4 separate regions of the Homo sapiens genome follow, and regions 1, 2 and 4 are each linked to region 3. Evidence: promoter capture Hi-C in human tissues and cell types (Jung and others, 2019). All regions are on one chromosome and are shown on one strand. Each heading gives the region's core, a stretch centred on a gene start or on the middle of the fragment in contact. The rest is flanking DNA. Distances are from core to core; before and after follow the strand shown. Region 1 overlaps LOC105371989 (a long non-coding RNA gene). Region 2 has its middle 26 kb from the start of NAPG. Region 3 holds the start of APCDD1 (APC down-regulated 1). Region 4 overlaps LOC105371988 (a long non-coding RNA gene).

What was found. Contacts are between HindIII fragments. The study calls those that stand out against the background at their distance.
Region 1: a contact is called between a fragment that was not itself captured here and the fragment with the promoter of APCDD1 in region 3, in 2 of the 25 tissues and cell types used here (dorsolateral prefrontal cortex and lymphoblastoid cells).
Region 2: a contact is called between a fragment that was not itself captured here and the fragment with the promoter of APCDD1 in region 3, in 4 of the 25 tissues and cell types used here (aorta, dorsolateral prefrontal cortex, hippocampus and 1 more).
Region 4: a contact is called between a fragment that was not itself captured here and the fragment with the promoter of APCDD1 in region 3, in 2 of the 25 tissues and cell types used here (bladder and mesenchymal stem cells).

What each region holds. Positions count from the first base shown.
Region 1 is chr18:10,394,513-10,401,185 of GRCh38, forward strand. LOC105371989 (a long non-coding RNA gene) reads left to right here. Exons shown (of 3, transcript XR_001753348.1): 3 at 5,558-6,633. Among named protein-coding and RNA genes, the nearest start is that of LINC01254, 17 kb to the right of the region's middle. The HindIII fragment of the contact is 4,022 bases long and covers 2,816-6,673 here.
Region 2 is chr18:10,496,415-10,503,668 of GRCh38, forward strand. No RefSeq gene overlaps it. Among named protein-coding and RNA genes, the nearest start is that of NAPG, 26 kb to the right of the region's middle. The HindIII fragment of the contact is 8,195 bases long and covers 1-7,128 here.
Region 3 is chr18:10,450,150-10,457,058 of GRCh38, forward strand. It overlaps APCDD1 (APC down-regulated 1), which reads left to right and starts at 4,486. Exons shown (of 5, transcript NM_153000.5): 1 at 4,486-4,890. The coding sequence starts at 4,833. The HindIII fragment of the contact is 8,431 bases long and covers 372-6,909 here.
Region 4 is chr18:10,419,256-10,426,462 of GRCh38, forward strand. LOC105371988 (a long non-coding RNA gene) reads left to right here. Exons shown (of 3, transcript XR_935142.4): 2 at 2,242-2,424; 3 at 4,865-6,000. Among named protein-coding and RNA genes, the nearest start is that of LINC01254, 8.5 kb to the left of the region's middle. The HindIII fragment of the contact is 4,106 bases long and covers 1-3,758 here.

The sequences.
Region 1 (6,673 bases), core at 3,577-6,076, 55 kb before region 3:
AAGCCCCAGTAGGCGTGTGTTACAGGGTGCTCTTTTAGTTTAGCCATCTGTAGGCAGCTTGTGTTAGTCAGCTCAATTAGACCCTCTGCCTTATCACAAGGACAGATGGCTTTCTGTATCCCAGGGTTTCTTGCCTTGGTGTACCAAAAGAATCAGAGGACACGTGGGACTGGAGAATGAATGCAAGGTTTTATTGAGTGGAAGTAGCTCTCAGCAGATGGGGGAGACAGAAGGGAGATGGAGTGGGAAGGTGGTTTTTGGCTGGAGTCAGGCCGGCTCTCCTCCAACCACCCCGCCAAACTCCATGTTGTTCTGCCAGTCAATGGCCTGCCAGTGTCTGTCTGTGTGCTCTTCTGCCAGCGTGCTCCTTTGGACGTCTTCTTGATGTCCAGCCACTTGTGTGTTCTTCTGCAAATATGTTCCTCTCAACGCCAGCTGTTTGTGTCCCGTCCTGCTAGGGTCTTAGGGTCTTTATAGGCACAGGATGAGGGCATGGCAGGCCAGAGTGGTCTTGGGAAATGCAACATTTAGGCAGGAAAACGGAAATGCCTGTCCTCACCTAGGTCCATGGGCACAGGCTTGGGGGTGGAGCCCTCACCTGGGAGCATGCCCTTCCCTTCTCAGCACTTCTCTGCCCCCTTCTGTATCAATATGTGAAGCAAAAACTGATAGAACCAAAAAAAGAAATAGGTAAATCTATTATTGTAGTCGGAGGCTTCAACACCTCTCTCTCATCAACTGCTAGAACATCTAGACAGAAAATCAGAAAATATGTAGAACAACTCAGTAGTTTATAGAACACTTCACTCAGTAACAGTAGAATATACATTCTTTTCAAATGCTCACAAAGCATTTACTATGCGCTGTGATTGGAATGTGTTCCCCAAAGTCCATGTGTGATAAACTTAATCTCCAATGCAGTAGTGTTGGGGGTGGGGCCTAATGGGAGTTACTTGGGTTATGAGGGCACCATTATCGTGATTGGATTAATGCTATTATCATGGGAGTGGGTTTTTTATAAAAGGGTTAGTTTGGCCCCTTTTTGTCTCTCTCTCTCACTGTTTCCTTGCCCTTCTGCCATGTGATGATTTCTCCCGTGTTAAGATGCAGCAAGAAGGCTCTTACCACATGCCAGCCCCTCAATCTTGAACTTTCCAGCATCCAGAACTGTTAGCCAATACATTTCTGTTTATTATATATTACCCAGTCTGCCATATTTTGTTATAGCAACACAAAATGAACCAAGACAGCAAGATAGATCATATACTGGGCCATAAAATAAATCTTAACAAATACAATAGAACTGAAATAATACAGACTGTCTTCTCTGACCACAATGGAATCAAACTAGAAATAAATGACAGAAAAAATAACAGACATACCTTCAAGCACTTAGAGACTAAATAACACATTTCTAAATAATCTATGGGTTAAAGAGGAAGTATCAAGGAAAAAAATTCAAATAATATGTTGAGCTGAAAGAAAATGAAAATACAACATAAGAAAATTTGTGGGACACAGCTGGAGCAATGCTGAGGAGGAAATTTATGGCACTAAATGTTTATGTTAGAAGAGAACAATTCACCGGTAGTTCTGGGAAAATCTTCAAAAACTGAGAACTAGTTACTATTTCAAGCTCGTGCATTTCTAATTCTTTCAAGTTCCACACGTTCAAGAAATATTATTATATCAAATGAACCTGCTCAAACATTTCTTTGCTTGAATTTAGAAAAATTTTTTCTCTTTGTTTTTATCAAAGCTTAACAAGCGGTAGGTTGGTTTTACCAGAATGTTTTGGATCCTAAGCAAACAAAGATGGAAAGAATGACTATGATTTGATGTTCATTTGGGGGTTTGTTTGGACATTTAATGAGTTATCAGCTCAGAGTATCATATCCACAGCTGAACCTTGCCATTGATAAGAATCTGAAAGTGATCAATTCAAGAACTCACCACAGTAACAGAATGAGCATGAATCAAGAGCAAGACATCTTTATTGTAACACCTCTATCCTGTCTGAGGGATGACAGTTTCAAGGATATTCCCAACCTCATAGACCAGAGATTCTCAGTATGGTTGGATATTTTTTTTTCACTTCCCATCTAAACTTGGAAAAAAAGAATGAGAAATCTCAATCAAGATGCTGGTCATAACAAAGTATTAGTCCAGCTAACAGGGCAATAAAGAATATCTGACTTTTGGCCAGGTGCAGTGGCTCACGCCTGTAATCCCAGCACTTTGGGAGGGTGAGGCAGGCGGATCACCTGGTCAGGAGATTGAGACCATCCTGGCTAACAAGGTGAAAGCCCATCTCTACTAAAAATACAAAAATTAGTTGGGCGTGGTGGTGGGCACCTGCAGTCCCAGCTACTCGGGAGGCTGAGGCAGGAGAATGGAATGAACCCTGGAGGCGGAGCTTGCAGTGAGCGGCGATTGAACCACTGCACTGCAGCCTGGGCGACAGAGCGAAACTCCTTCTCAAAAAAAAAAAAAAAAAAAAAAAAATCTGACTTTTGGGTATATTTTGCAGTTGGTTTAGAAATTAGTGTTTATCCACAGCCTCTTATTTTTCAGGAATGCTGTCTAAAATATAGCAGTCTTTCAGTAAATGGATGTGTCATTACTGCTGTGGTTAGTGTTATTATTAAAGATGACTGGCATGTGGAATTAAAACCCCTGGCCATAGAGCGAGGCCAACTGGATGAGGAAAGAGAGGCGGGGAAGGGGAAACTTGCCCAGGATCACACATGAGTTAGGTTCTCAGGATAATGACAAAAATGGGACTAGAATGGTCGCTTCGAGGATGAAATGAAAACAAGCTCAGGAAGACACCTTTCAAGAACTTTAACTTCATACAAATGTAATAAATAAAAGTAAGAAGTTGTTTCAAATAAAAGCCTGATAAATGAAAAACAGATATACAATTGCAGAAATAAGTACAAATATATCCAGTAGTCAAATTAACTATAAAATAATTTAGCTCACGTTAAAAAAAATAGAGGTTAAATTTTAAAATTCAGCTATGTGCTGATTATATGAATGAAAATAAATCAATTTTGAAAATATAATATTGAGTTTTAAGAAATGAAGTGGTTTTTCCTGGATGACACTATTTTTATATAATCTAAAAACACAGAGAGTGGTCCTACGTATAGTTTATGGATACATAACATACAACGTAAAAAAATTAACTAGAAGGACACTCACCAAATTCATGACACTGGTTCTGTAAGGAGGTGAGCAAGTTTGCACTTGGGTGTCAAAGATGGATGCAGCTTTGTCTTCTACATATTCCATTTTAATAAAACTCAGAACAAAAAAATGACTACATGTTAACTTTTTCTGTATTTTATTGTATCTGGGTGTTTGCATATGCTTTTGCTTTAAAAAATCAAATAAAGGAGAAAGATCTTTGGAATGAAAGCAGACAGCACCGATGCATTCACTGCCAGGGGAAAGCAGGTGCAAGGCTCCATGGGAACGATGACCTTAGTAGATTCTCATCTGAAAATGGGCATAACTTTGCACTTTTATTGCTCTGGACATTAATAAAACAGTGTACATGTACAAAAGTGTACTGTGCTTGAATGGGAATTAAACGTATGCAAGAAAAATGCAGGGACAGTGTTCCTGTCTGGCTTAAACTTTGGTACTATGTGTAACACACACTACAATAGGGGTGGTGTGTTTCCTACAACAGGAACTAGTGGCTACTATGGAATTCTGAGAAACTCAGCAAGATTGTATTGGCATCTGAAAAAAGAGCATTATCAATAGTTTTGGGGTTACATGAGGATGGAGTGACATGTTTTCAGTCTGCATTCTATAAGTAACACATGTTTAGGTTACGATATTGACTATGATTGCTAAGCTTTAAGGAATACACTACGATGGCCCAGTCCTGTCCCTGATTTCATTGATTTCCTTTTCTTCTGATAACTTGAGGTTATGGCCTTGAAGAAATTTATAAGGCACAGGAAGAGTGGTATTTGTTTGCCTGGTACAGAGTACCTAACATTAACAAGGGGAAAAAGTTTTTCATTCAATTGTTTAAATTAAATGATTGGGCAAGCCGCTGGATTTCCGTGTTCCTAAGAAAATGCAGTTGGAAAGTCATATGTAAATGAGAACTCACTGAAAACTGCTTCTTGCATCTAAGCCAACATTTCCTGGTTGAATGGCTCTTAAGAATCACATTAAAGCCTATTCATTATTTTAATATTGAAGGCCAACTTCTCACAAACTCATCCACCCAGGGAGTCCTCACCATCAGCTGTGAAAGGCACAGGACTTGGAGCTCTGAGAATTGCTGAGAATTGATGTAATGATCTCTGGCAAAGCACAAGTGTGGAGCCCATCTGTCTCCTTAGGGCGAGAAAGGGTAATAAAGAATGCTAAGTAAAGGAAAACCCTGGGACAGAGAAGTCACTGAGCAGCAGCTCTCTGCAATGTGGGTCTTGACACGGACACACACACACACACACACACACACCTGTCCACACACATCAGGTTGTTCAAATGTGGGTGGTTGTTCAAATGGTCTTGTGTGTCTCTGCTGGCACATTTCTTCTTATGATTTCTTTTTATAAACTTCAACAATAAAATTGACTTCTATGATCTTAGACCCTTAGTAAATGAAACCTGTTCATTTTCACTAGTAGATTTAAATGTCACAAAGCTGGTATTTTACATGAAAAAGGTCAAGCTTATAAAATACTTCTACATGAAATCCCCTGAAACAGAGACCATAGGATTTTCCCCCCTTTTGTCAGAGGCACAACAGACAAATACGTGGGTTCAAAAATATTAAAGGACTGCCTATCCTCCCCCGCTTCCTGTTCATAGAATGAAATCAGAATACTTTTATCGACTTGGGCTATTCAAGAATCATGTAACATAGAAATATTTTTAAAATTATTTAATTCAAAAGCAAGTTATATGTAGGTTTAAAATACAATCATACCCTGTATAATGATGTTTTTGGTCAATAACTGACCACATATATGACAGTGGTCCCATAAGATTATATTGCCATATTTTTACTGTACCTGTTCTACGTTTAGATACACAAATACTTACCATTGTGTTAGAACTGCTTATAGTATCCAATACAGTCACATGCTGCACAGGTTTGTAGCCTAGGAGCAATAGGCCGTATAATATAGCCTGGGTGTGTCGGCTCTACCATCTAGGTTTATGTAAGTACATGCTGTGATGTTTGCACAATGACAAAAATCACCTAATAATGCATTTCTCAAAACGTATCCCCATGGTTACGTGAGGCATGACTGTCTATTAAGAGACACCCATTTCTTTTCTTGGTGACATGCTGTAAATATCTATGAAAATAGGAAATATTGATGAATTTTGGACCTTACTACCTCAAGGAAGAATGACCAGGAAATGAAAATCTTGAGATTTGAAAACCCGTCATTTTTCTAGGCTTCAGTTTGCCTAATTTCTCTCTCATTTTCTCTTCTTTCCTTTTTCTACTAATCTTGTGAATCCATTTTGGGAAGAAGTGGGCCCTAGAGTCACCCTCTCTGCCCTCTAACAGGACCCGGCTTGGGGATGACGGCAGATCCTATCTCCCTTCTCTCCAGTCTCAATTCTAGCAAGCAGCATCTTTCAGCTTATGTTGGGGAGTGAAGCAGGATCTGTGACCTAGGACCGAAGCTGGCGCCTGGCGGGACGACTCAGACACCAGACTTTGGACCACAATACCATCAACTATTAGTGTCTGTCTCTCCAGGATCCCTAGCAACTAATGTTATTTTTAGTGACTGACTCTTTAATATGTACTGCTTGTGAATATGAATTTAAATGTTATGTCCAGGGCACACAGCAGTGCACACAGCACTAGCAGTTGGGGCAATTGAGGTATTAATTTTCTACTCGGTAACTCGCATCGTCATCCACAACCTGCAGAGCAAAGCCCAAACTCTGTACCGCAGCACTCAAGACCCTCTATTAGCTGACTCCATCCTAACTGCCTAGTGCCATGTTCCAGTCACAGGACCTGGGGTCCTGTCATACAGACATGTTCCATTTCCAAATAAGCCATGCAGAGCTCTGCATCTGTGCTGAGCTGCTCCTTCGGCCGAGAAGGTCGTTTCTGTCTTCTGTGGCTGAAACTCATGCTCCCTCAGGGTCCACAGCTGTGTACTAAGTGCTGGTGCTGGCACAGTGATGCACGTCCTTCTCACATCAAACTCGGACAGGGCTAGGGTGTGGCCTCAGAACAGCCCACTTCTCCTTAGCAGCACATTATCTGTCATCTACTTATGAGTTCAAAAGTGGAGATGACAGAAACAAGGAAATAAAAGTGCATCTTCAACATAAGAGGAAGTGCACAGTCTCACTCATAATAAGAAAAATGCTAAGTAAAAATTCCAGCAAGATACAGTTTCTAATCCAGCAGTTTGGCGGAAAGAAGAGAAGTTGGATGAAACAACTATGGTCAGGCTGTCAGAAAAAGGGCATTTTCGTGTAGAATTGGAAGGTTTGTAAATGTGTAAAACCACTGAGGATGACTATCTCGAAATACCTAGTAAATTATAAATACACCCTATCCTTTGACCCAGAAATTCCACTTCTAAGAATATATCCTACATATAGCAGTACACATGGGAAATAATATATGTTCAAAATGATCTAATGAGACCTCATTGTA
Region 2 (7,254 bases), core at 1,781-4,280, 45 kb after region 3:
AGGAAAAAAGACACAACTAAATAGAAAGACATTACTTACTCATGGAATGCAAGGCATAATATTGTTACAATGTCCATACTACCCAAAGTGATCTACAGATTCAATTCAATCCCTATCAATATCCCAATCACAGTTTTTACACAAGTAGAAAAAAGCAAACCTAAAATTTATATGAAAAAAACCCAAATAGCCAAAACATATTGAAAAAGAAGAACAAATCTAGAGGCATCATTTTTTTTTCTGATTTCAAAATATATTACAAAGCTGCAGTAATCAAAACACTACAGTACTGACATGAAGACATAGACATATAGACCAATGGAACCGAATAGAGAGACCAGAAATAGACCACATATATATATAGTCAACCACTTTTCTACAGAGCTACCAAGAGTACACATAGGGAAAAGATAGTTTCACCAATACATAGTTTTGGGAAAACTGGATATCAACATACAAAAGAATAAATTGGGACTTTTATCTCACACAATATACAAAAATGAACTCAATGTAAATTAGACTTGAACATACAACCTGAAACTGTAAAACTCATAGAAGAAAACATTGGTGAAAACTTCATGACACTGGTCTTGACTATGATTTCATGGACATGACACTAAAAGCATAGGCAACAAAAGCAAAAATAAACAAATGGGACCACATCAAACTAAAAAGCTTCTGCACAGTGAAGGAAACAATGAGCACAGTGAAGAAGCAACCTACAGAATGGGAAAATATCTGCAAACCATTCATCAGATAAGGGATTCATAAATAAGATATATGAAGAATTCCTACACTTAATAGCAACAACAGAACAAACAAACAAAACCCAAGTAACTTTATTTGAAAGAATGGGTGAGAGACTGGAATAAACATTTTTCCCAAAAATATATTACATTTTATATTGTCTTCCTTGACAATTACTTTTTCACTGTGAAAACCACTCAATGATGTCACAGATGGATTTCACAAACATGGAAGTTCAGACTTCATGAAAGATTTGGCCAAAGACAAAAAATAGCTCTGATTTCCAAATACAAATCATTTCAATGGGCAAAAAAACAAAGTGCCTGGTATGATAAAATGCATTCTCTCAACCTTCTTTGAGTGTGTTCCAGCACAAATGTCTATCTGCAGTATTCATAGCAAATTCTAGCCAACCTCTGCATTTCCTTATTAGCTTGAAACTAAATGGCAGGAAACACCCAGGGGCACTAGTAACACTAGAATCTTGTGCCAATTTAAAACTGGATAGACAGTACTGTGGAGCTAGTTTCTTAATACTTTGAAAAATTCCATTGAAATGAGAGATAACAAACTTGAAAGGAAAGTACTTTTTGCATCAATAAATAAAACATCAAAGTGATTATTGAGCCAAAGATCCAAAGAAGTCATGTGCAGTTTTCAGTATAATGAAGCACTGAATATGAATTCATAGGATCAGCCTAGTTTAAAAAAATAGCAATACTTTCTATTTCTCGAACAACCTTTCTCCTGGGGAATGATGGAGGCACTAATATCACCATACTGTGCCCAGTTTAACACTTGTGCTTTGTTTCTGATCATTTTCCCAAATAACAGAGCACCAATAAGTTAACTTCAGTTTCAAATCACTTGACAAACACCAGGATGTCAGAGGAAATTGTGGTGATAAAAATAATTAAAAAGCAATACGAATTCTGCAAGCCCAAAGTTCTTGTGACAATACATAAACAGAAGAAGATAATATGAAGTCTTTTTCTTATAATGATTAAAGACGGCCAGCAAGTCAAAGCTATTGCCCTGGGGCCTGCTTTCTCCCTTTGCTGTTTTCTCTGAGTGGGTTGGGCAGGGTTGCCATCCACTTCCTCCAGGTCCCTCTGTGGATGCCTGGGCTCTTCGGTGCTCTGCTTTTGGCTTTCTTAGATGTGAAGTGGAAAGAGTATGGGCTTTGGAGCCAAACAGGCCCGTGTTTGAATTCCTGCTCATATACTGTGCACTTGCCCATTTTGTAAGTCATTCAGCTTCTCTGTGCTTAGCTTCCTCACTTATATACTGGGATTCTTAACCCAGTAGAGGAGAAGCTGGACTTGCATTGACCAACTTTCTGGGTTAATGGCACTCCCATTGCTGCAGAAAAGTATGCTGGCTGCTGTGCATGGCCTGATACAGCGACTTGTTCCCCACACTGCAGACCCTGGACCAGCAGCATTGCAGCAACTGGGAGTTAGTTAAAATTGCACAAATTCAGGTTCATTCCAGACCTGCTGAACCAGAATCTGCATTTCATTAAGCTCTCTAGGGGATTCCTGTGCAAAAGAAAGATGGAGAGGCAGGACTTGACTCTAGCACGCCCAGGTACTCCTACTGCCACAAGCTAAGTTGTATGCCCCTTCATAGTAAGTTTTAATTCCCAAGCTTCTGTATGCTTGCTGTTCTTTTTGTTATAATTGTACAATAATTTTAAAAGTTAATTTTTTGATGAAAACAAAAAATAAATAAATAAAATAATGATTTATTTATTTTGTAAAGAAAGTTGTTGTCTCCGTGAAACCCAAGGTGAATGTGATGGAAAGACGATATGCAAAGTGACTTAAAATATTGCTGTTGAGTAAGGTATAAATAAGACAACTGTTAGTTACTGACTGAGGTGGAGGGATGTAAAAATATAGAAGGAATCTGAATTCTAATGATTTCACACATGTCTCTAAGTTATTAGTATTACAAGCTACCTGCATGCATTACAAGTGAGATGTATGCAGGAAGTTGGTGCAACTATGGGCCAAGATATGTTCCTGGTCTGTTATGAAAAGACTGATGCATAAATGTATGTTTACATGTTTTTGACTAAAATAAAATATTCAACGTATATTGAAACTGTTTGTTTATGGTATTCTCAATTCAACTCACTCTTTGTCTTAGCAGACCAACTATTATCCCTGTGGCATGCTGGTGGACCTACCCACAGAGTTGATATAGAGATTAGAAGTGAGTGTGCGTGGTACAGGGTAGATGCCTAAGAAGTAGGAGTTCTGAGAGGGTGACGTTATGCAACTTCTCATGGTGCATCTTGTGGTTTTGACGCCTTCCTCTTCACCACGAGTCATTTTACTTTAGGAACTATTACATACGTGACATTGAAAGAGGCACTGTGAGAACTATGGAGATTTATAAGTACTGACTCCTCTCCCAAGAGGCTGCAATTGAATAGTGATGATAAGGTAACAGAAATAATAATCATTTAAGGCAATGAGTTATTTGTTTTTCTGAAAGTTAATCACTTTCGGAAAAATTTAACGTATAGTTGATGTAGACAAAGACAATGTTTATAAATAACCATTTGAGTAATAACTTTTTACTGTGTTAAAATCATATGAAATTCAGCATTTTAACCATATTAAAGTATAGAATCAGTGTACATTTATAACTTTATGCAACCTTTGCCACTATTTAGCTCCAGAACGTTGTCATCACTCCAAAAGGAATGCTGTACCCTTTAAGCAGTCACTCCCATTGCCACTTTCCAGCCCTGGGCAACCACTAATCTGCTTTCGGTCTCTATGATTTGCCTATTCCAGATATTTTATTTTAATGGAATCGGACATTACATTGCTTTTTCTCTCTGGCTTCTTCACTTGGCATAATGTTTCTAGGTTCATCCATGTTATAGATGTATCAGGACTTTTTACTCCTTTTTATGGCTGAATAGTATTCCAGTGTATGGATGACCACATTTCGTTTAGCTCTTCATCAGTTGATGAGCATCTAGGTTGTTTTCATCTTTTGGCTATTGCAAATAGTGCTGCTATGAACATTCATATACCAGTTTTTGTTTGACTCTTGTTTTCAGTTCTTCAGGGTGTATACTTAGGAGTGGAGTTGCTAGGTCATAGGGTTGTTGCATGTTTAACTAACTGAGAAACTACCAAACTGTTTTCCACAGCTTTACCATTTGACATTCTCACCAGCAGCGTATGAGGGTTTTGGCTTCTCTGCATCCTTATCAACATTTGTTAGTCTCAGTTTTTTTTTATTATTATTATTATAGCCATCCTAGTGGTTGTGAAATAGTATCTCATCGTGTCTTTAATTTGCACTTTCCTAATGACTAGTGATATTGACCATCATTTTATGTGCTTATTAGCAATTTGTATATCTTCTTTGGAGAAATATCTATTCAAGTTCTTTGCCTATTTTTGAGTTGGATTGTTGTTTGTTTTTTAGTTGTTGAGTTGTAAGTGTTCTCTATATATTTTGTATCCTAGATCTTTAACAGATATATGATGTGCAAGTATTTTTTCTTATTCTGTGAGCTGTCTTTTCCCCTTTCTTTTTTTTTTAAGAGTTGGGGTCTCACTCTGTCACCCAGGCTGGAGTGCAGTGGTGTGATCATGGCTCACTGCAGCCTGCACCTCCCAGGCTCAAGTGATCCTCCCGCCTCAGTCTCCTCATAGCTGGGACTACAGGTATGTTGCCACCAAGCTCAGCTAATTTTTAAAATTTTTTGTGGAGACGGAGTCTTACTGTGTTACCCAGGCCAGTCTGAGACTCCTGGGCTCAAGTAATCCTCCCACCTCAGCCTCCTGCCTCAGCCTCCCAAGTAGCTGAGACCACAGGGACTTGCCACCATGCCCCGCTTTCTTGATTGTGCAGTTTAATGCACAAAACTTTTTAATTTTGAAGCCCAATTTTTCTGTTTTTTCTTTTGTTGCATGTACTTTTGTTATTATAGGCAAGACACCACTGCCAAATCCAAGATTATGAAGATATACCCCTATCTTTTCTTCTAAAAATGTTACAGTTTTAGCCCTTACATTTAGATCTTTGATACTTTGACGTTATTTTTTGTATACAATGTGAGATCAAGGTCCAACATCCTTTTATATGTGGATATCTAGTTACCTCAGCACTGTTTATTGAAGAAACTATTCTTTTCCCATTGAATGATCTTGGCATGCTTGTTGAAATCAAGTGATAATAAATGTATGGGTTTATTTCTGCAATCTTAATTACATTCCATGATCCATATGTTTCTGATCTAACCTACACCTTTATGGTATATCCTAATGCCAGTAGCACATTGTTTTGATTACTGTAGCTTTGTAGTAAGTTTTGAAATTGGGAAATATGTGTCCTCCAACTTTGTTCTTAAATATTGTTTTGGGTATTTGGGGTCCTGTGCAATTGCTTATGAACTTCACGATTGGCTTTTCTTTTTCTACAACAAAAAAAGAAACTATTGGGATTTTTGAAGGCATTGTATTGAATCTGTAGATCAATTTGAGGAGTATTGTCATCTTAACAATATTAAGTCTTCCACTTTGTAAATGCAGGATACATTCCATTTATTTAGGTCTTCTTTAATTTCTTTCAATATTTTATAGTTTTCAGTATACAAATCTTACACCTTCTTGGTTAAGTTTATTCCAAACTAGTTTATTCTTTTTAATGCTATTGTAAATGGAATTGTTTTCATAATGTCCTTTCAGATTGTTCATTGCTAGTGTACAGACATATACTAGACTTTTGTGTGTCTTCTATCCTGCAATTTGCTGAATTCATGAGCTCTAATAATTTTTATGAGGATTCTTGAGTATTGTCTATATATAAGATTATGTCATCTGTGAATAGTGATAGTTTGATTTATTCCTTTACAATGTAGATGTGTTATATTTCTTTTCTTGCTTAATTGCTCTGAATAGAACATTCAGTAAAATGTTGAATATGTGTCAAAGTAGAAATTATTGTATTGTTCCTGATAATAGGGAAAAAGCATTCAGTTTTTCAGTTGAATATGATGTTAGCTGTGAGGCTTTTCATGAATGCCCTTCACCATCTTGAGGAAGTTTCCTTGTATTCCTGTTTTGCTGACTGCTTTCTTTCTTAAATCATGAAAGACCTCTGGATTTTGTCTGATACCTTTTCTGCATCAATTGAGATGACTATATGGGTTGTTTTCTTTTTCCTTTCTTCAGTTAACGTGGTGTGTTGTATTGATTGACTTTGTTATGTTGAACTACCCTCGCATTTTTGGGATAAATCCCACTTAATCATGATGTGTAATCTGTTTAATATGTTTCTGGATTCAGCTTGATAGAGTTCTGTTGAGGATTTTTCCACCTGTATTTGTAAGGGATTTGTATGTAGTTTCTTTTTCTTGTAACATGTTCACCTGGCTTTGGTATTTGGGTGATGCAGAACTCATAAAATATTTAGAAGTGTTCCCTTCTCTTCTACCTTTTGAAGAATTTGAGAAAGTTTAATTTTAACTCTTCAAATGTTTGGTAGAATTCACCAATGAAGTCATCTGGTACTGGGATTTTCTTGTCTTGTTTTTTTAATTACTGATTCAATTTCTTTACTTGTTTTAGATCTGTTGATATTGTCTGTGTCTCATTGAGTCAGATTTCATAGTTTATTATTTTTAGAATTAATTCATTTTATCTAGATTATCTAATTCATTGGCCTACACTTTTTAATAGTATTGCCTTAAAATCTTTTTTGTTTCTTTAAGGTTGTATTTTTAATTCTAATGCTAGTAATTTGAATCTACTCTCCTTTTATTTTTCAGTTTGTTAATTTTCTTGATCTTTTCAAAGAACTAACTTTTGCTTTTGTTGTTTCACTCTTCCTATTCTATTGTTTTATTTCTTTCCTTCTAATAGCTTTGGATTTAGTTTGTTTTTCTGGTTCCTGAAAGTGTACAGTTTATTGATTTGAGATTTTCTTTCTTTTTTATGTAGCTATTAACATCTACAAATTTCTATATGAGCACTGATTTGCTGCCTTCTGTAAGTTTTGGTATGTTGTGTTTTTGCTGTCATTTGTCTCAGAGTATTTTCTTATTTTCTCTTGAAATTCTTTCTTTGATTCATTGGTTGTTCAAGTTTGTGTTTAATTTCCATGTATATGCGAAATTTCCAGTTTTCCTTTGTTATTGGTTTCTAGTTTCATTCCATTGTAGTCAGAGAATGTACTTTGTATGATTTAGGTCATTTAAAATTTATTGAGATTTGTTTGTGGCCTAATGTATTGTTATCTCGAAGAATATTTCATTTGTACTTGAGAGTGTATATTCTGCTGTTGTTGGGTGGAAAGTTCTATATATGTCTGTTAGGTCTAGTTGGTTTATAGTGTTGTTGAAGTTGCGTATCTTTTTACTGATCTTCTGTCCAGTTATGCTATCCATTATTGAAAGTGGGGTATTGAAATCTCCAACTATTATCCTAGAACTGTCCATTTCTCCCTTCGATTCTGTCAATGTTGGCATCAAAT
Region 3 (6,909 bases), core at 3,236-5,735:
GCCCAGGGTCATAGAGCTGAGAGATTGTGCCCAGAGAATCTGGCTCCTTAGCAATTGTGCCAGGCTGCCTCTTATTTGTTGTATTTGTTTGAGTGTTGCTATGTGTGCCATAACAACCTCGGGTATGCTCGGAGTGAATACCAGAGTTTTTGTATCTTCCTGTTTCTGTAGTTGGGTGCCGAAGTGGCTTAGGGTGGTGGTGGCTCATAAAGACTATTTTTTGATGCTCTGATCTTATCCTGCCTCATTTACGAGTCCAACAAATGCCCATTATGGAAGGACTTGTGAAGGGGCTGGGGGAGGAGACACACACATAATACCCGATTTTCTTCCTGCCTTCAAAGGGCCAAATAATTTAGTTGCGCAGATAAAGCAGTTAGACATAGAAGGCAATCAGCACTAAAAGGAAGAATCGTCTCTAAGTCACATGAAGGTACAGACAAAAATGCTATTGAGGTCCTTGAGTGTCTCCTGTCCCTGAGGTCATCTCATATTTTCTTCCAGTGGGAAGGTCCATAGTCTTCTCATCAGTCCCCCAAACAGACTCGTGACAGAGGGTAAATGAACAATTAAGCCAAATCCCCTTCATACATACCTGTTCCTAATTTCAGGTGGTTGTACATATGTATCTGATACTCACCAGTTGGTCAAAACATGAATGAATGCTTGCTAAGCTCACAAACATTTTATTTGTTTTCTCTGATAAACGCCAGGAGTATAAAATGGAATGTAACATTTAATTTCTTAACCTCAGAGGCTGTGTTGCTCAGGGATATATCTAAACTGCATTTTATTTTCAAAATAGAGCTTGTTCTAGTTAACGTGTTTAAAAAATATAACTCCAAAATATGCCCCCTTCTAAGGGCCCCTCAGGATAATTTCGTTGTCTTTGCCTCTGAGGGAGCTGTGTAGGATTTTTGAAATTTTATATCTACCATTTCTCAAAGTCCTGCTGTGGGCAAAAGACTGGAAATACTGGCTTAGGTGCTAAAAGGGGAATGGTGATGACTCAACCACTCCTGGCCTTTGGATGCTTCCAGTCTGTGGGAATTTAATGTAACCTCACAAGCTTGGAACTGATATCTGACAAGTTTCAAGAAAAGTCTATTCCTGGTGACATTTTGTAGGCTCTGAGGACTCAGAGGGTAGTCAAATGCTTTCGACCATACTCATAGTTGACTGTGTTCTAGAATCCATGTTTTAAATACCCTGGCCCTTCTTAGAACCAAAAGGCCTAGAATCTCAGAAATTCCAAATGACTAAATGACTTGCATGATGGCCCAACTTTATACCAATTTTCACAATGACTGCGTTAGAAAACCAAACTGTAGCCCAGGTTTTAAGGGGCATTGGTCCTTGTGCCTCCCAGGACAACAATGAAATAGAGCGTTCTACTACTCTGTACTCACTAAAAATCAAGACACCCTCCTAAGAAAATCAAGCTAAGGCGATCACCCAAGCTCTACATCCCAGGAAATTTACTCATGATTGAGCGTTCCTAGGGAAAAGCAAAGGACTGGTTCTGACTCAAAGACAGGCGATTATAGAAGCTCATAGGGCAACTGCGTTTGTGGAAAAAAAACCGCTTGGTAGACACGTGACAGGCCTCGTGAGTTGGTAACTGAACAAATCACAGGCGTTCCAAGAGGCGATGTGTTGTGTGGCTGGGAACTTAGCTCCTTTGAGTTTCCTCTTCTCCATCAGCATGGCCAGGGTTATTTATGAACAGCTCCAGATATTCTAACACACTTGTTGATGCTCTTAAGGGGATCCTGTCCAGCTGTCCCTGCCAAAGACACTCCCATTATCACCAGGACCTGGGCTCCACATGTTCCTGCTTGAGGCTTGGGTTCTCGTAAGTGGTTTGGGGAATTCCCTGTGCTTATTTCAGGGGTCCCGATTCTGTGCTGGATTTAACAGCCACTTATTACCTCCCTAGCAATGCTTGCTTCCCAGTTCTATTACTCTAAACATATATCCACAAATAACCTCTCTAAGACAAATTTACATGTCTTCCTTTTCCTTTCATTATTCTTCTCCAGAAAGAGGTACATTAACAGCAGAAGTGAAAAGTAATGCAGAAAATGAACTTATCCTCGGACAAATCTAGATCTTCTCGACTGTTGGACGTTGCGGGGACATTTTCAGGCAGTAGTAACTCTGGCAGGATGTTATGTTGAGGGTCGAGTATTTAAATCTATGACACTACATGGGGAAAATAAACTGGCAAAACAAATTTGAAACTGCTGACTTCATTCTGGCTACGTTTATACCACACCAGTAAAACCAGTTGGAAAAACAAAAATTGAAGCAACTTGACTGTCAAAATGACACCAAATTACAGCTGACCTGTTGGTTTTATCCTTTTTTTAATAACAAAATCAAAAAATTAAGCACATACATGACCTAACTGTTCTTCTAATATGTGATGAATAACCTAAACATTTTTCCATTGCTGTCAACCTATTTGCTTATACAAAAATGCACCACCCCTAACACTCTCTTAGCCATTTGCTTGTTTCAAATATTCTTTGATGGACTAAAAGGCATCAAATGACTAAAAGACATTGAAAAACTAAACACCACTTCATATGTGTTCTTGGTGACAAGGCTTTTGTTCTGCATAACCAACCAAGTATGCTGTTTACATCGTTTCCAACTGCCCAACATTCGTGAAGAAGTCAAATTCTTGGTTTAAAATGAAAATTTGATTGGCCCTTGGCAAACATTCAAATCTTACAAATCATAGTCTGCTACCCAAGCCTAGCAACTGGGATGAGAGAACGATCAGGTACAAAGTCAGGCTCAGAAAGATGTGGCAGAGCAAGACTAACACAAAATAATGCCTGCGCTCATAGGCATCGTTTTCATGATCTTCTTTTTGCCCACACAGGTATTCTTTCATCTTCAAGATTTGCAAACAGGAGCACATTAATCTTCACAACATCCGTGTGAGCTGAGCAGCTGGTACATCTTATGATCCTCTGTATTAATGATGGAAAGATGATAATGATGGTGATAAAAATTAAGACACATCAAACAGCGTCAGCACTATCACATCAAAACACCCATGGATTTCTCAGGTTAAAAAAAAAAAAAGAAAAGTGGAAACTGTCAAATGTATTCTCATCTATTTTACTATTATACCGTTGCTAAGATCCAACTACTTTTGAAAGTCTAACACATAAGGAGTTGAATTATTGCATTGTTCAAAGGGGCAGAGAATTCTCTTGGGAAATCAGGCATTTATTTTAATCTTTTTTTTAAATGAAAAACACTAACGGTTGCGTCAAGAAATGTTCTCTAGACTCCACTGGGTCTCCTGTCTGCTCTTTATCCTAGTGTGGAGAAGAGGTGACATTAACCTTAGGAGGGGGAAAACTGCTGGAAGAGGGGAAGGGCTCAAGCAGGCCCTTGGCAGAGGAGGGACCTTCCAGGTAAATCAGATGGCCACTGCCTTGTACCCGCATTGGAGAACGAAGGACCCCAGGGGAAACTCTTCCTGCCTTTGGGTCTCAAACGCCCATGTAGTCCCCCCTCCCCCACAAGACCGCGAACACAAATAAAATCAGCTTTGATTGTGGTGATTCAATTTGCTCTGGAAGAGAAGAGGACTCGGCGAAGGGGCCTAAGTGCACGTTCTTAGACTGACAGGGAGCGTTTCTCGGAGATTTCTCCCGTTTCAACAAGTCATTTGCCTAGTGGAAGGGGGAGGAAAAAGTGAACGGGCTCCTGCCTCCTACACCGTGCCCTTCCCAGGTTGGGGCCTATGACAAGGTTCTCCGTGCTCCCCAGAGGAGCCAGGCACTGGGCCGGGGTAGGCGATTTGTAGTGAAGACCTGCACCGCACCCACGAGGGGGCCCAGCACTGACGCATCCTCACCCCCAGCAACCCTCCAGGACTCTCTCTTTGGTCTCCCCTCTCTCCCATGGCTGCGCGCTGGCACACACCCCGGCTCAGCAGGCCGCTTTGCTTGGATCCCACGCCAGGCCTCCAGCCTCGCCGCCCGCACCCCCTTTGAACACCTTTCCCCAGGGGAGTGGGCGGAGGCGGAAGGGTGACCCGCGCATTCTCTTTCCTTGCGGGCGGGGTGCGGGGCCAAAGGCTCCCACCCCCTCCAAGGAGGAAGCGCGCCCGGAATGGGGGACGGGGAGGAGAGAAAGGGGTGCGCAGAGCCAGAGGGAGGCAGAGGGGCCTGGAGGGAGGAGAGGAGGAGGGGAGGATGGAAGGGGTAGGAAGCTGGAAGAGGAGGGGTAGGCGAGAGAGGGGAAGGAGGGAAGCGGGAGGGGAGCGGGGGGAGGAGGGGCGCCCGGAGTGGGAGGAGGGGAGGCGTTGCCCGACGCGCCCTTTCAAGTCTCCGCGCTCCCCCCCGGCGGCGGCTGCCCGGGGGCGGTGGCTCGGCGTCGCCTCCCCCGACCGCCCCCTCCAGGGCCCCTCCTCCGTGCCGCGGCCAGGCTGCCCGGCCGGCGGCGCGCTGGAAATATGAAGAGACGCTGCAGCTGCGGTGGCGGTGGCGGCCACTGCAGCTCAGAGCGGCGCACGCGGCGGCCGGGGCGGGACGCGGGGCCGGGCGCGGAGAAGTCGGGGCGGGCGGCAGAGAGGCCGGGACGCGGACCGGGCCGGGGCGCCCACAGCCGCCCGACGGCGCCCAGAGAGCGCGCGCCCCGCAGCCCCGCGCCTAGCCCGCCGGGCATGGGGCGCGCGGCAGCCGCCTGAAGCCCCGGCCTGGCCCGGCCGCACCCGGCCGGAGGCGGAGGGCAGAGCGCGCGCCCAGTTGCCCGGGCACCAAATCGGAGCGCGGCGTGCGGGAGGCCCCAGAGCAGGACTGGAAATGTCCTGGCCGCGCCGCCTCCTGCTCAGATACCTGTTCCCGGCCCTCCTGCTTCACGGTGAGTTCCCGAGGGCCACTCGAGCGCTCCCAGCCGGCGGAGGCAGCCCGGGCGCCGCGGAGCCCGCGGAGGCGTCGGGTCTGGATCGCGGCACGGCCTACACTGTCCCCTTGGCGGGGCGGGTCCGAGGGGAGCCCCGCGCCTGCCGTCTCAGCCCTGGGAGAGGGGGCTCTGCCCACTTTCCGAGGCTTGGGACCGCTCTCCCCCAGGGCGCCCGGAGCTCTTTGCTGCGGGACTGTTCTTTTTGGAAGGGTGGAAGCTCTCCCACGCAGACACCTTTTATGTCCAGAATCCGTTGCATCCAGTCCGAGGGAAACTTTCGTCCGCTCTGCTGGATTTTCCAACTGTACACTGCCATGAAATCGCCGGCTCTGCGAGCCTTTTTCCAAAATGCCAGAATGCAGCAGGCTCTTGATGTGTTCCAAGCGTTTAGGAGAGTGGAAAGAGAAACTGATCATTTGGGAAAGACACGTCTGTCTGCCTTCTGAAAACTAGTGTTTGTTGTCTGCCTGCACTTTGCCTCGCGATTGAGGCGGGGTTGTGGGGTTTTCTCCCAAGTGGACTGTTGCGTTCTCTGGGTGTAATTTTAAGAAACAGGGGACCCCTATTAGCCAAGATTTAATCATTATTACCAGTCTCCCAATGTGCACCCCAACTTGACGTCCCATTTCCTGGGCTTCCAGTGCCACTTTTCCCCAGGGGTTCTAGTAAACCTTTAGCTAGAGAACATCAGCCCTTTCAGCGGGTTCCAGAAATTGCGCTGAAAACACCAAGACAGAATTTCTTTGGGGTGGACAAGGCAGGTTTTATGGCGCGTCGGGTTCATAATCCTGACAAGCCGTGGCAGATCACGTCGTGTTGATGTGGATGTCCTGAGCAAACTGTCCCTAATGGTCAGACACCTGACGTTTCAACAGCATGACTTCACGGCTCTCCTTCCTCAACACCCACCACAGCCACCCCAAACCTGTAGCGGGCTCCGGCTTCAGAATGCATGGTAGCCAGGACTGAAAGTCAGGCTGAGGACCTTCCCTCCGGAGGATCAAGGAAAGGGAAGAATTGTTAACCCACAAGCCACCGGGATGCTGTTTTCTTTGTAGTCCTGCCCCAGGTGGATGGCTCGCATAGCTCCACAGGCTTTGTGAACTTGTCTGGCTGGGCCAGACCTGTCCAGTTGCCAAGGTGTACTCAGAGCCCCAGTGATCCCAGAATTTTAACAGTCGGGATGGAAGGCTTGCAGAGGGCAAAAAGAGAGAAGGTATAATTATAGGGTTGGACTCCTAGGCCCATCTGCTTAGAATTACAGAGCAGTTTTAATCTTTGGCTGAAACATGAAACAAATCAGAGCCAATGAACAGATCAAACAGCAGCTGCCACACACACAAGAAACAAAAGAGAGAGATGAAACAGGAAACATTGTCCCCCTTAAAAAAATTGTTGTAATATCTGTGAAGAAAAAAGATAGTATGGTCAAATGATTTTAAAATTTAAAAAATTACTTAAAAAGTTGGCATGAACAGCATTTTTTGGGGTAAAATCATTGCCTTTTAAACTACAAAAGTGATCCTCAGAGATGCAACCTTGTACACAAGGTAACTCTGAACATGTTCTCCCTATTTTGAGAGGTAGGGGTTGTAATTATACTTCCTATTTAGCAGTCCAAGCTGGGGTAGTAATGGCTGACAGGTAACAAGAGCCCAAGTATATCCTCAATGAAGACAGGAGCTCCAAATCTCCTGAGTTTGAGAATTTGAGTCTGGAATCTTCCATAACTCCGGGGATCTGAGGGAGGAGGGCTCCCCAGACCCCATGGTGTTGGGAGGGGGATTGGGGAGCAAGGAAATAACTGGGAAGGGCAGTCTGAGCTATAAATGGGAGCACAGTGGAGACAGACCGTGTGCGTGCTGGTATGTGTGTATGCATTTGTGTGTACACATATGTGCATATGTATATATGAAGATAAGATAAAAAGGGAGGTTTGCAAAGTTGAGTTGGGTTACATGGATAAACCGATAAAAA
Region 4 (7,207 bases), core at 456-2,955, 34 kb before region 3:
GGGTCTCCAGCCTTTGGCTCCTGTTGAATTACCACTGGGTTTCCTCGGCCTCCTGCTTATATACAACAGATTATGGGACTTCTCAGCCTCCATAGTCATAGGAGCCAATTCCTCATTTTATAGACACCATTGGCTCTGTTTCTCTGGAGGACCTTGATTAAGATAGTAGCTTGTTGTGAAAAATATCCTTTTAATTTACTTTATGTTACTTCGGCACACAGAGGTTGCAAGATTTTGTCAACTGAAGAATGATTAGGCTCATACATCTGGAAAGGAGAACTTCATTTCTCATAAAGGGCAGTGTGCTGGTGGCCAGTCTGATAGGCTGGGAATCGTAGCCTCTAGCCAGAAGCCAGAAACAGATACTCAGAGGGAGGGGCAAAGGGTGCAAGAATGTATACGGAATGGTGTGGCCAAGTATACATATTTAACAATCTCTAGGAGGAGTTGTGGATATTTATGGGAGGAGAAACATGCACACGCACAACTGAGCTTCATGCCTTTCCATGGGGACCCAGGTCCAAAAACAGTGGCATTAGCATGACATGAGGGTGGAGACTTTAGCCCTCTGATGTCAAAAGGTGAAGCAAAGGAAAAGAAAAAAAAAAACCCTCTCTGTGGATCCTCTGTAGACTGGCCAAAACCACACTGTGGTCAGTGGTAGTCTTATCAGGAAGGAATGCTGGTCAGTTGTTTTGAAACTGCAAAAGGGATGGGCACTGTCATGCAGTTGGTTGATATCAGGTGTGGAGTAGTCTTTCCAAAGGGCTGGTTTCTGTTCAGCCCCCAGTGAAGAAAAGCTAATGGGGCCAGCAAACGAGGGGGGATAGTGAAACATGTCTGAGTTCCCATCCTATCATGGCCAGAACTCAGTTTTTAGGGGTTCTCTGGGGTCCTCTTGGCCAAGTGGGGGTCTATTCAGTTTGTTGGAGGGCTTAGGATTTCAGTTTTGTTTCTCAGTTCAAAGCTCTGAATTAGGCACTGTGAGGGGTACAGAAATAACTAAAAGGCCATCCCTTAACTTATACAGCTTACGGTCTGTCAGAGAAGACACACTTGCAAATATTAAACTGTAATCTGAAACAGAAATATACTGAAATGAGCCAAGCACTGCAGAAAGTTATAGGAAGGTGTCATTGTACCTAGCCAAAGGGAAGCTGGGGAGGGCTTTGTGAAGGAGGAGACATCCGACCAGGGATTAAAGGGTAAGTAGGATTCTCATGGTCTAAAAAGGGTTAGAAGTCGAGAGCTGCATAATTGCCTAATGGGTTCTTCTTGCCTGCTGCACAGACAAAACCAGTTCACTGAGACTACGGTATTGCAGTGAAGAAAGTTAATTGCTGCCAGGCTAGGCATGTGGAAGGCCTAGTTTTCACTCAAATCCAGTCTCTCTGAAGGCTTGGAGGTTAGGGTTTTTCAAGGAAAGTTTGGCAAGGCAGGGAATGGGGAATGTTGATTGGTTGGGGATGAAATCATAGGGGTGTGGAAAACAGTCCTTGTGGGCTGAGTCAATCTCTGGTAGGAGCCACAGGAACAGTTGAGTCATGAGTTGTTGGTCCAGGTGGAGTCAGCCAATCATCAGAAATGCAAAAGTCTCAAAAAACATCTCAAAAGGCCAATCATAGTATCTACGATAGTGATGTTATCTACAGGAGTAATTGGAGAAGTCACAAACCTTGTGACCTCCTCAACAATAGCTGGTTATTGTTTACGCCTACCTCTTAGCAGAATTTAGGTCCCTGTCATAATCCTAAGCTTGTGGCCTTTCGTTAGTTTTACAAAGGCAGTTTGGTGTTGAGAAGGGGTATTATCATCATTTCTTGAAGCTTAAACTCTAAACTAAATTCCTCCCAAAGTTAGCTTGGCCTACACCCAGGAGTGACTAACAATAGCTTGGAGGTTAGAAGCATGATGGAGTCAACTACATCGAATTTATCTTACTGTCACAGATGGAGTCAACTATGTTGGATTTATCTAACTGTCATAATCTTTGCAGAGTTAGTTTCAGTCCCAATCCCACAGGATTGGGAAAGCCTGCAGGGTGCTTGGGAAATGAGGTGCTGTATTTCTCACCTATTGCCACTGTAATAAGCCATCTGTTTGCTATAGCTAGTTTGATAGCAGATATTGCACTATTTGTTGTCTATTGCAGCTCTCACAGATTACCACCAATTCCCAGGCTATCAGAATGGCCACCACCAATTTCGTGATTTAAAACAATACAAATTTATTATCTTACAGGTCTGGAGATCAGAAGTCCAAAAAATGGGTCTCACTGAGCTACAATCAAGGTGTCAACAGGCTGTGTCCTTTCCTGGAGGCTCTGGGAGAGAATCGGTATCCTTGCTCTTTTCCCACTTCGAGAGGCTGCCACATTCCTTGGCTGGTGGCTCCTTCCTCCATCTTCAAAGCCAGCGACAGATGGTGAATGGAGTCCTTTCACGTGGCTCACTCTGCCCTTGTTCCTGCTGTCACATCCCCCCTTCTCTGTCTGACTTTTCTGTCCCCTTCCTCCACTCTTGTCATTACCTTGGGCCCATCTGAAAATCCTGGATCGTCCCCCTAATTAAAGTCAGTGGACTAGCAACTTTAATTCCATCTGCAACCTTAGTTCCCTTCTGTCATGTAGCCTAACCTCATCACGAGTGTCAGGGATTTGCACGTGGACATCCTCAGGGACCCCATCGTGAGTGGTTGGGGGGATGTGGCCAGAAAGAAGGCAGTGGCAGAATGCCCAAGAACTCTGCAGCTGCGCTGAGGCATCTGAGAGCCAAGGAGGAAACCTTCTTTGTGGTTAAGTAAGAATGAACTAATATCCATCTGGCATTTGGCATTTTACACTGCACTTTTTGTACATTATCTCATTGGATCTTAAAAACAGCTCATTGTGAGATGTGTTAATATTATTCTTATTTTAAGGTGGGGAAACCGAAATCAAACAATGTAGGTGACTTTTTTCAAGATCACCCAGTGAGTGATTCAGGACTTGGCCCAGGCTTTCTGGTCTACACTCACAGCCTTTCCTTCATCCACAGAGGCAAGATCTAGCAATTGAATTAGGTTGCCTGAATACCAACCTTTGTAACCTCCTATTGTTGGCTTATTTTCCTTATGGTTTTGGAAAAGAATCTTTCAAAACAAGTCAATTTTATTACCTAAAAGTTACTTTGCTTTTAAAAACTGTTCCTTGAATTAATCCACATATTGTGTCTTCCTCAGAATGATAAGCATAAAGGTAGTTACATTTCGTTCTCATCCTTACACCGAAACATGGGGAATTAACAACACCCCTTCTCTGCCGTCAAGTGTATGTGCAGGTTAGGGAGCATCTTGAGAGTTTGGTCCCACCAGCTTCCAGAGCCTGCAGTCTGGCTTCCCATGTGGCTTGAGGCTCCCAGTGCAGGCAGCCCTCAGTGTCTAGGTGCTGGGCTTCCGTCTCACAGTCCCTGGCCAGCTTCCCTCAACACATCCCTCTAATGACCCCGGGGCCTCACCCAATCTTTTCTCCTGACATATTGGGAAGTGAGGGGCAGCAAGGCCCTTTGGCCCAGCAAGGGTCCCCTGCAGGGCTCCCCACTTGAAGGGGCCTGTGCTTTGGCCCCATGCACTGACCCACTCCTTGCAGGTGCCCAGAGCAGCTGAGGGACCTGTGCCTGTGGAGTCATGTGGGTCGTGGGTGGGCTCTGGCTCCAGGGGGCAGCCCAGCATGGCCGTCACTCCCACTCACTGCCACCGGAGATCGTTTGGGATCTGGCCATCAGAGTGGTGCTGACAGCCTGGTTAAGGTGACCATGGTCCTTGAGTCTCAGCCTGTGTGCAATTCCACACATGGGCTCCTCCCCTCTGTGTTCTGGCTGTGACGCCCTCTAGCTCATAGCACCGGATGGTGCTGTAGGTGCCAACATGTGTCCCTCATGGTGCACAGCACCCACTGACCAGCCGCCCTCCACAGACTCTGCACATGTGTCTTGCTATGTTTTGGAGGTGGTCAAATCCATTTCTCCTGATGAAACTTCCCATCAATGTGGCCACACTGCTCTGTTGGGTCATTCTGAAGCCATCACTAGCAAGGACAGCCCATCTTGTATGGATGGGCTCCCTGTCCTTGTTCTGCTGCAGCCCTCTCACCTGGCCTCCTGCTGGTGCGGCGTGGAAGGCAGATGTTGTCCATGGGGAAAGAGACCCCATTCATTATAGGCATGCCATGATGTCAGCCTAAAGAAGTTAAGGGATGGCTGGGTGCAGTGGCTCATGCCTGTAATCCCAGGGCCCAATGCCTGTAAGCACTTTGGGAGGCTGAGGTGGGTGGATCACGAGGTTAGGAGTTCGAGACCAGCCTGACCAACATGGTGAAACACTGTCTCTACTAAAAATAAAAATTAGCTGGGCATGGTGGCGCACACCTGTAATCCCAGCTACTCAGGAGGCCGAGGCAGGAAAATCACTTGAACCCAGGAGGTGGAGGTTGCAGTGAGCCGAGATCGCGCCATTGCACTCCAGCCTGGGCGACAGAGGGAGACTCCATCTCAAAAAAAAAAAAAGAAGTCAAGGGATGACGCCGTGGATGATGGGTTATTCCACATTCATGCTACATAACTCAAAATACCACATGACCAGAAAATAAATCTTCATTTGCATTTTCCTGAATCATCTGGGTAATCCTGGCATTGGTGGTCCATGTCAGCAAAGCACATAAACCACTTTGAGAGTCAGCAGAAGCCATGCCTGGTCGTGACACTGCAGCCTCACAGGTGATGTGACCAGTGGTGCATGAACGGTCCCAGGTCTACATTGTTTCAGTACAAACAGGTCCCTGAGACCCATGGCAGTGAGTGATGACAGCTTTGCTACCTTTTCTTCCTAGAGATATGACCTTGACCAGGAATGCTGCCTTTGACAATAAAGAAAAAGAAGAGATGATGCCTGGACACCACAAACATCACGTGCACTGGCTGGATGATAGAAAAATACAGCGGTTCCTCTTCTCCACCCACTATCGCAAATCCCCATTGATAAATCACTATACCCCACGTGGACCCATGAATTTTGTAACATATTTTACAATCAAATTGTGTAGACAGGAGCCTTACAAAAATTAGTTGCCCACAGCCCCGCAAACCCTAAAACCTGCCCTGGTGAGGAGGATGGTCACCTGATATTGTTTTAAATCCTCCTTGGTGTCCTCCTTCAAATTATGCCTATTGTGCCAGCTCAGTGCCCAACATACAGTCAATCTCTAATAAATATTTCCTGGAGGAGAGAGAGAGAAGAAGTTGGTGACACTAGTCATGCCCCTAATGTTTTATTTTTGCTCTTCTAAAAAGCAGTGCATAAGAAAGTTACCATATGCAGTGAAATAAAAATGCTGAATTTACGTCTTTTGCTTCCAGAAGGAGGTGAATGTGAAGGTCAGATTTTAGGCAGACTTCAAATTGAAGCTCAGTTTTAGATAAAACATTCTCAGTGCAGAGGCTCAGAGATGACGCAGTGGGGCGGAGGGTGCCGGAGGGAGGGAGGGAGGCAGGAAAACTCAAGCCCTCTCTCTGATCTCCATGGATGGCCAGATTAGGAAATGCATGTGGAACCACAGGAAGAGCCACACGGGCCAGAAGCGACATGCTTTTGAGTGGTAAACCCACAAATGAACATACAAGTTCAGAATTCATAAATGTCCCAGAGAAGACAGCAAGCTTTAGAAGCAGCATGCATTTCATTACCAAGCAAATTTACTGATTTGTTTCAGTTTTATGTCTTTGGACAAATATAGATTGGCAGGATTTTCATATTCAGCTCACTTCATGCTGCTGCTTTTGATTTTTTCCTTCCTTAGTTGTGACCTCTTGCAGAATTCCTGACACTGAGCTACGATGTTCTCAAGCATGTTGCAATGTCAAGTTCAGGCACTTAAGAATCATTAAATCCAAAATTTCTCTCATCTCTGTTGTTTTTGGAATTGGGGTTGAAAATGGGTTTGAGGGCAAAGTATTCTTTCTAAGCAGAGACCTAGCAAGCACTGGCTTAAAATGCTGAAATGGTTGTTCTGTCTAAAAATCTACATTTATAAACATGTGTGGTAAAATAAATAAATAAATAAATAAGAGCCACAGCCACATGCTCCCTTGCAGTGCAAGCATTCCTGATGATGCCATCTCCCCCTTCTCTCAAACCCTGGGAAGTCCTTAGTTTCTCAAAACTAAAGGATTGAATATCTCTTATTAGACACAATTTCTTCCCCAATTAGGAACATGGCAATGCAGGCAATTGGATTTTCCAGGTGAGGAAACTGCAACAGAAAACCTTCCTGGTACCTGCTGGCCCCATGCCTGCAGCCCCCACTGGCCCCTGTGCATTGAGACCCCAAATATTCATTGCTTCAAACCTGCTGGCAGACACCATTTGGGGCATCTTTGCTCATGACGACCACTGTAGTCCGCAGTCATCTATCTCTGAACATTTCCCTTTACTATGACTACAGCGGGGAGCTGATGGATATAATCATTATCCTTTGCTGCTTTCATTTGTACATTCATTCATCCAACATTTTTTGGATGAACAAAAAATGTTGGATGAATGAATAAAAAATGTTGGCTGCACAAATACACAAAGGAAGGCAGCAATGGCTAATGCTATGTCCTAGGGGCAGCCTTATGAACATTTATCATTATACAACATGCTGGGTTACTCAGAAGAGAATAGAAGGTGAGGTGGGGAAGGAAGCCACAGAGGTAAGGAAGACCAAAATGCAGCTGCCTTCATCAGGCCCTACTTCCAGAGATGCACGGGTGGATGGAGCTTTTCCCTCTGACCCAGTCCTTCAACTGCATGTGATGCTTTTGGGACCCACGCATTCCATCCTTTCTGCCCTGTCCTTCTCCTGGATGTCATACATTGGGATCCAGGTGTTCAGTTTTCTCTGCCTTGTTCTTGCTCTGCATGTGATGATTTAGGGACCCAGGTGTCCAGTCCTCTCTGCCCCATCCTTCTCGTGTACGTGATACCTTTGGTAATTCGGGTAACCAGTCTCCATTTCCATAAGAGGTAGCCAGATGCTCTTTTCAATCAGGGATGTCAGGGATGTTTCCCAAAAAATGATTCACCCCCTGGTGTAGAAACCTGGTAACTAGACAAGAGGCAGTCACAGCACCACAAGTTTTCCAAACGGGTGAAAAAGGAGAGGTCCCTTTGTGGCCCAGTACCATTTCAGCTT